Linked DNA regions of Homo sapiens: region 2 is linked to region 1. Evidence: promoter capture Hi-C in human tissues and cell types (Jung and others, 2019). All regions are on one chromosome and are shown on one strand. The core of a region is centred on a gene start or on the middle of the fragment in contact, and the rest is flanking DNA. Distances in the headings are between cores, read along the strand shown. Region 1 holds the start of HES6 (hes family bHLH transcription factor 6). Region 2 holds the start of RAB17 (RAB17, member RAS oncogene family).

The links. The method cuts DNA at HindIII sites, captures the fragments that hold promoters and counts their contacts. A contact is called where the count stands out against the background at its distance.
Region 2: the fragment with the promoter of RAB17 here is called in contact with the fragment with the promoter of HES6 in region 1 in 1 of the 25 tissues and cell types used here (aorta).

What each region holds. Positions count from the first base shown.
Region 1 is chr2:238,238,713-238,241,412 of GRCh38, reverse strand. It overlaps HES6 (hes family bHLH transcription factor 6), which reads left to right and starts at 1,375. Exons shown (of 4, transcript NM_018645.6): 1 at 1,375-1,588; 2 at 1,666-1,752; 3 at 1,845-1,926; 4 at 2,162-2,700. The coding sequence starts at 1,508. The coding sequence ends at 2,586. RefSeq lists enhancers at 1-475, 2,376-2,700 and a silencer at 1,133-1,652. The HindIII fragment of the contact is 10,490 bases long and covers 1-2,700 here.
Region 2 is chr2:237,589,284-237,591,983 of GRCh38, reverse strand. It overlaps RAB17 (RAB17, member RAS oncogene family), which reads left to right and starts at 1,250. Exons shown (of 6, transcript NM_022449.4): 1 at 1,250-1,517. RAB17-DT (RAB17 divergent transcript) reads right to left here and starts at 824. Exons shown (of 3, transcript NR_187201.1): 1 at 717-824; 2 at 1-112. The HindIII fragment of the contact is 5,809 bases long and covers 1-2,147 here.

The DNA.
Region 1 (2,700 bases), core at 126-2,625:
CAGGCTCTGCTGGGGGTGCGGGGAGGTGGACAGGGGGTCCTAGGTCAGACTGTGCCCTTGTCCAGGGACGCTTATAGCCTGGAGGGGCTCAGAACAGACCCTGACGATCCCAGCCCGGGTGAGTAGTGGGGACTGAGGAAGGCAGGTGCTGTGCGGGGCAGGCTGGTAGTCGGCCGGCTGGGGTCCGAGAAGGCGTCTCCCGTTCCGGCTCCTCCACACAGCGTCTGGACTGACGCCGGGGCAGGAGCCGGGCAGGGGTCCCCAGGACGCTGCCCGAGGGCGCGGCCCCACCGCCCACGCACCCCGCCCGCGGCCAAGAGGAACCCAGCAGATGGGCGGCCCGCCGCGATGGGGGAGTCGCGGGCGTCTGGCCGGGACAAGCGCCCGCCGCCTGCCCGCCGGACAAAGGGTGCGAGACAAAGGCGCGGCCAACACCTGTCGCTCTTGGCGCGGCCGCCGCTTTTCTCGCTTTTCTCCGCCGAAGCGGCCGCAGCTGCCAACTGTCACGGGCATCAAGTTACAGGACCAGACGGCAGCTTCGGCGGGCCTGGGAGGCGGGGCGCGGAGGACGAGGAGGGGAGGAGGGAGGCGGGCGGGGGGCAGTGGAAGGGAGGGAGGGGGCCCCGGGGGCCAAAGGGGACTAGAGGGAGATGGGGGAGCTCAGAGGGGGGCGGGGCTGGTGACCCGCAGAGCCCAGGGGGAGAGCGGCGCGGGCGGGAGCACCCGGGACCCCGCCCCACTAGGACTCCAGTGCTGGCGGAGGGCGGCGTCGGGGGTCCGGCCCGGCGTCTGGACGAGTCCGGAAGAAACTCAGGGGCCGCCCCGCCACCGCTGCCCAATGGACCCTGCCTCCCCGGGGCTTGGCAGCCACCCCAGCCGGGACCTGAAACCCCTCTAGGTCCAGAGACCGCGGACTTGACTGTGGCTCTGCACACCAGGGACGCATCTCCTGGGGCCAGTGGCCCCAGCGCTCAACTCTGGAGGCGCCATCGGCGAAGGAGGGAAATGAATGAATTAATGGGTGAATGAATGAGTGGACGGACGGACGGACGGACGGGTGGACGCCTGCTCGCACGCGCGGCAGATCAGTGGTCCTAGAGCAGCAGACGGAGAGAAACAAGCGCGGGCAGGGCCGCAGCTACCCGGGGTCGCCGCCCCGGTGCCGCCCCCGCGGGGGTCTAGGGAAGGCCGGGCTGGGGGCCCCGCCTAGCTCAGCCAGCTGCCCGACCGCCAGAGCCGCTGGGCCGGACAAAGCGCGCTGCCCCGATTGGCTGCAGCGCGCCTCGCGGTCGGCCGCCCCGGGCCCGCGCGGCCAATCGGCGCATTGAGATGCAAATAAGCGGCTATAAAAGGGGCGGGACCGCGGCGGGCCGGAAGCCGCGAGGAGCGCGGACGGCTGGGCTGCTGCTGGGCGGCCGCGGGGCAGCGGAGGGCGCCGGCACTCCGGTCCCCGCCGCTCCCCGTCCCCGCTGCTCCTAGCCCCTGCCGCGTCCCCGGCGGAGCGGGCATGGCGCCACCCGCGGCGCCTGGCCGGGACCGTGTGGGCCGTGAGGATGAGGACGGCTGGGAGACGCGAGGGGACCGCAAGGTGCGGGCCGGGGCCATGGGCGAGCAAGCGGGCGGGAGGCCGTGCGGGGCTGGGATTCAGTGCCCCGCTCCCCGCAGGCCCGGAAGCCCCTGGTGGAGAAGAAGCGGCGCGCGCGGATCAACGAGAGCCTGCAGGAGCTGCGGCTGCTGCTGGCGGGCGCCGAGGTGCGGCGGCCGGGCAGGCGCCGTGGGGCTGCGGGGCGGGCGGGCGGGTCCGGGAGCGCGCTGCCGGCTCACCGCCCTTCCCGCCCGCGCAGGTGCAGGCCAAGCTGGAGAACGCCGAAGTGCTGGAGCTGACGGTGCGGCGGGTCCAGGGTGTGCTGCGGGGCCGGGCGCGCGGTGAGTGGCGGCGGGGCGGGCGGGGGCGCCGGCCGCGGGCGCCTGTAACCCCTGCCAGACGGAGGACTTCCCTCCCGGCGCCCCTGTCCTGTCGGCGGCGAGGGCTCCCACCGGAGCAGGGTGCGCCCCCGCGTCTCCTGGGTGAGCCGCGTCCCCGCGGGCCGGGTGGGCTGGGCCACGCAGTCGCCGCTCACCGCGCGGGACGCGGCTCTCTCCCTCCCACCCTCGGGCCCAGAGCGCGAGCAGCTGCAGGCGGAAGCGAGCGAGCGCTTCGCTGCCGGCTACATCCAGTGCATGCACGAGGTGCACACGTTCGTGTCCACGTGCCAGGCCATCGACGCTACCGTCGCTGCCGAGCTCCTGAACCATCTGCTCGAGTCCATGCCGCTGCGTGAGGGCAGCAGCTTCCAGGATCTGCTGGGGGACGCCCTGGCGGGGCCACCTAGAGCCCCTGGACGGAGTGGCTGGCCTGCGGGGGGCGCTCCGGGATCCCCAATACCCAGCCCCCCGGGTCCTGGGGACGACCTGTGCTCCGACCTGGAGGAGGCCCCTGAGGCTGAACTGAGTCAGGCTCCTGCTGAGGGGCCCGACTTGGTGCCCGCAGCCCTGGGCAGCCTGACCACAGCCCAAATTGCCCGGAGTGTCTGGAGGCCTTGGTGACCAATGCCAGCCAGAGTCCTGCGGGGGTGGGCCCGGCCCTCCCTGGATCTCCTCCCTCCTCCCAGGGGTTCAGATGTGGTGGGGTAGGGCCCTGGAAGTCTCCCAGGTCTTCCC
Region 2 (2,700 bases), core at 1-2,500, 650 kb after region 1:
TCGAGCCACCGCGCTGGCCTCTTTTTGCATTCTTGCTATAAAATTGGTATTTGTATCTTCCTCCCATTCTGCGCTCCCCCAACCCTGCAGGAAGGTGGATTCTTCAAGGGAACTGGAGAGAAGAGAAGCACATTCATGTATTTCCACATTCAGCCTCCATCTCACGAGTTACACCATTCCCAGCACGTCACCACCCCCAGACCTTTGGTTACCAGCCTGGGGGCAGAGGATAAGGACGTCATTCAAAAATAGAGAGATTCTCAAGCCTCCAGAGTGCGGGGGCCCAGCCGAGCATGCTGGCGGCTTCCAGGGAGGTGGCCACGCCCCAGGGGAAGTGGTTGCATGGAGGAAGAATCTCAGAGGAGGCTTGGACGTGGTAGAGCAACGCTAGTCCTGTGTTAGGACTGGCTAGTCCGTCCTGCAGGGATGAGGGGCAGAGCCTCAGCAGAAGTCCAGGCCAGTGTCCCCCCTCCAGCATAAGAGCCCCCCACTCCCACAGGGCGGAGGAACCACTGTGGTGGCGGAGCTTATTTCCCAGCAGCCCCGCGGGATGAGACCCAAACGAGAAGTTAGGGTGAGTTTGGAGGACATAAAGTGAGCTGGCTTCCCGTATACTGGCTGTGTGGAGTAATGTTCACGGCAACAGATTTCCATCTCCTCAGCCTCAGGCCCAACCCTGCTACCCCAGCCATACTCAGAGGCTCTGGAAATCTTACCTGGAGGAGACTCTTCTGTTACCACCAAGCCAGGAAGTTTCATGGCTTGGGAAGACCAAGAGGAAGTCCACCTCCCCCTCTCCTGCACCTGGAGTCTCCCATGTGCACGGAGGCCACGCCCCCACCCCGCCCTCAGGTGGCATCAGCCCAGGATCTGACCCTGGACTGGCTCACACTCAGTTGCCTCTGGCCAGTGCAGGGCTCAGCCAGGGATGGCTTCTAGCTGACAGTGGGAGGAATTAATTCATCTGACCGGAATATTCTTTTCTCTTCTGGGCTGTTGGTTTTTCAAGTGCAACAAAGATTCCATACAGCTCCAAGGAAGGAGCCAAGAAAAACATTCTGTGCCAAAGTGAGATCCTGGAAGTGAAACCCCGGAATAAAGCTGAAAAACGGGCTCCAGTTGGGTGCCAGGAAATGCAGGACTGGAATGTGACTTGACTTCCGGCAGCGCGCAGGTGCTCCCGGGTCACCTGCTTTGAGGTCCAGCCTCCTGCCCTGCCTCAGGTGACCACATGACCACTGTGGACTTTGCCCTGAAACCTTCTGGGAGGAGAAGAGGCCTGACCTTGGCGCTGGGGTCCAGTGGGCATTGCTCTGGTCCGAGGCTGCTGCTCTTGACCTCTGCTCTGCGGCTGTTTTCCATTGGAGTAGAGGCTCCTCCTGTCCTGTCCTGCCTGTGGAGGGAAGCAAACCTTCCCCTGGACCAGAGAGAGGAGAAAGCGGAGACAGGTAGCAACGCTGTGGACTGGTGATGACAGGCTCTTCAGCTCCCTGCAAGTGACCGGGCCTGGGGAACAGGTGAGTCATTGTTTAAACCTCTGTGCCCTTTGTGGAGTGTCTGCCTGTGTGTGTGTGTGTCTCTGCTTCTCTGTGTGTGAGTCTCTGTGTGTCTGTGTGTGTGCTCACGTGTTTGTACCCATGTCTGTATTTGTTTGTGTCTGTGCATGTGCCCATGTGTGTATAATCAAAGGACAAAGCTGGGGCGGAGACTTCCTAGTTCAGATTTCTGATGGCTCACTAAGTCGGATTCCCAGAAGGAGATTCTTATTTGCATTTTTCTTCGGGAAAGTTCCGGTTTTAAGGTCTTGAAAAAAAAAAACACAAAAAACTTCTGGTAATGAGAAGAACTCTTAAAGAAATCCATTTCAAATGACATCAACATTCCCAATTTAATACCCAGTGATATCTAGGAAGCTTGTCAGGTTTTCTTGTAAACTCCTTTTTACAATCTACATTGTGTTTTCTGTATCAGATGGCTGTATTCTGAATGCAATGTACAGGTGTACCTCTCGTAATCTCAATATTCTTCACAGGCCCCAGGCAAGGGTGACACAGGATCACAGTTGCCGATAGACTCATCAATCAGACCCTTCCCTGGAATGGCCCCTTCCCCGCAAAAAAGACTAATGTGGGATTTGCTCTCCGTTTTTTTTCCCTTTAGTGGAAGGGAGGTGCAAGAGATTAAAAAGCCCCAAGTTAAGATTACTAGAGAAGCGCCAGTCTTGAATATGGTGTTCCTGAAAACATCTTTGTCTTCAACAACCTAATAACATCTTTCACTACTAATAACCCCATCTTGATTAAATTCTGGAGGTGGGGGTCAGGTGCCACACTTTTAATTTTCTCTTTGGACAGAAGGCTCCAACCTCTCATTATTGAAAGCTTACAACACTCAATCACACAAAAAGTTATATAAGAAAATGTTTACTGCAGTCTTATTACAGAGAAAAAATTAAAACTAAGTAAAAATCCAGTATTAGGAAAATGGTTCAGCAAGTTGAGATAGTTGTAGAAATGTTATATGTCCATTAAACATGATTTTGAAGCAATGTGTGAGACTGCCTTTGGTATTAAGTATTTCTTACCCATCGGATAATAATTTTATGTTAAAACTATGGGTTTTGGTTTGTTTTTAGGAGTCATAGAAAAAAACTAGAAGTAGGCAAAAATACCATTTGTGGTTGTATTACGGGGGTGGAGT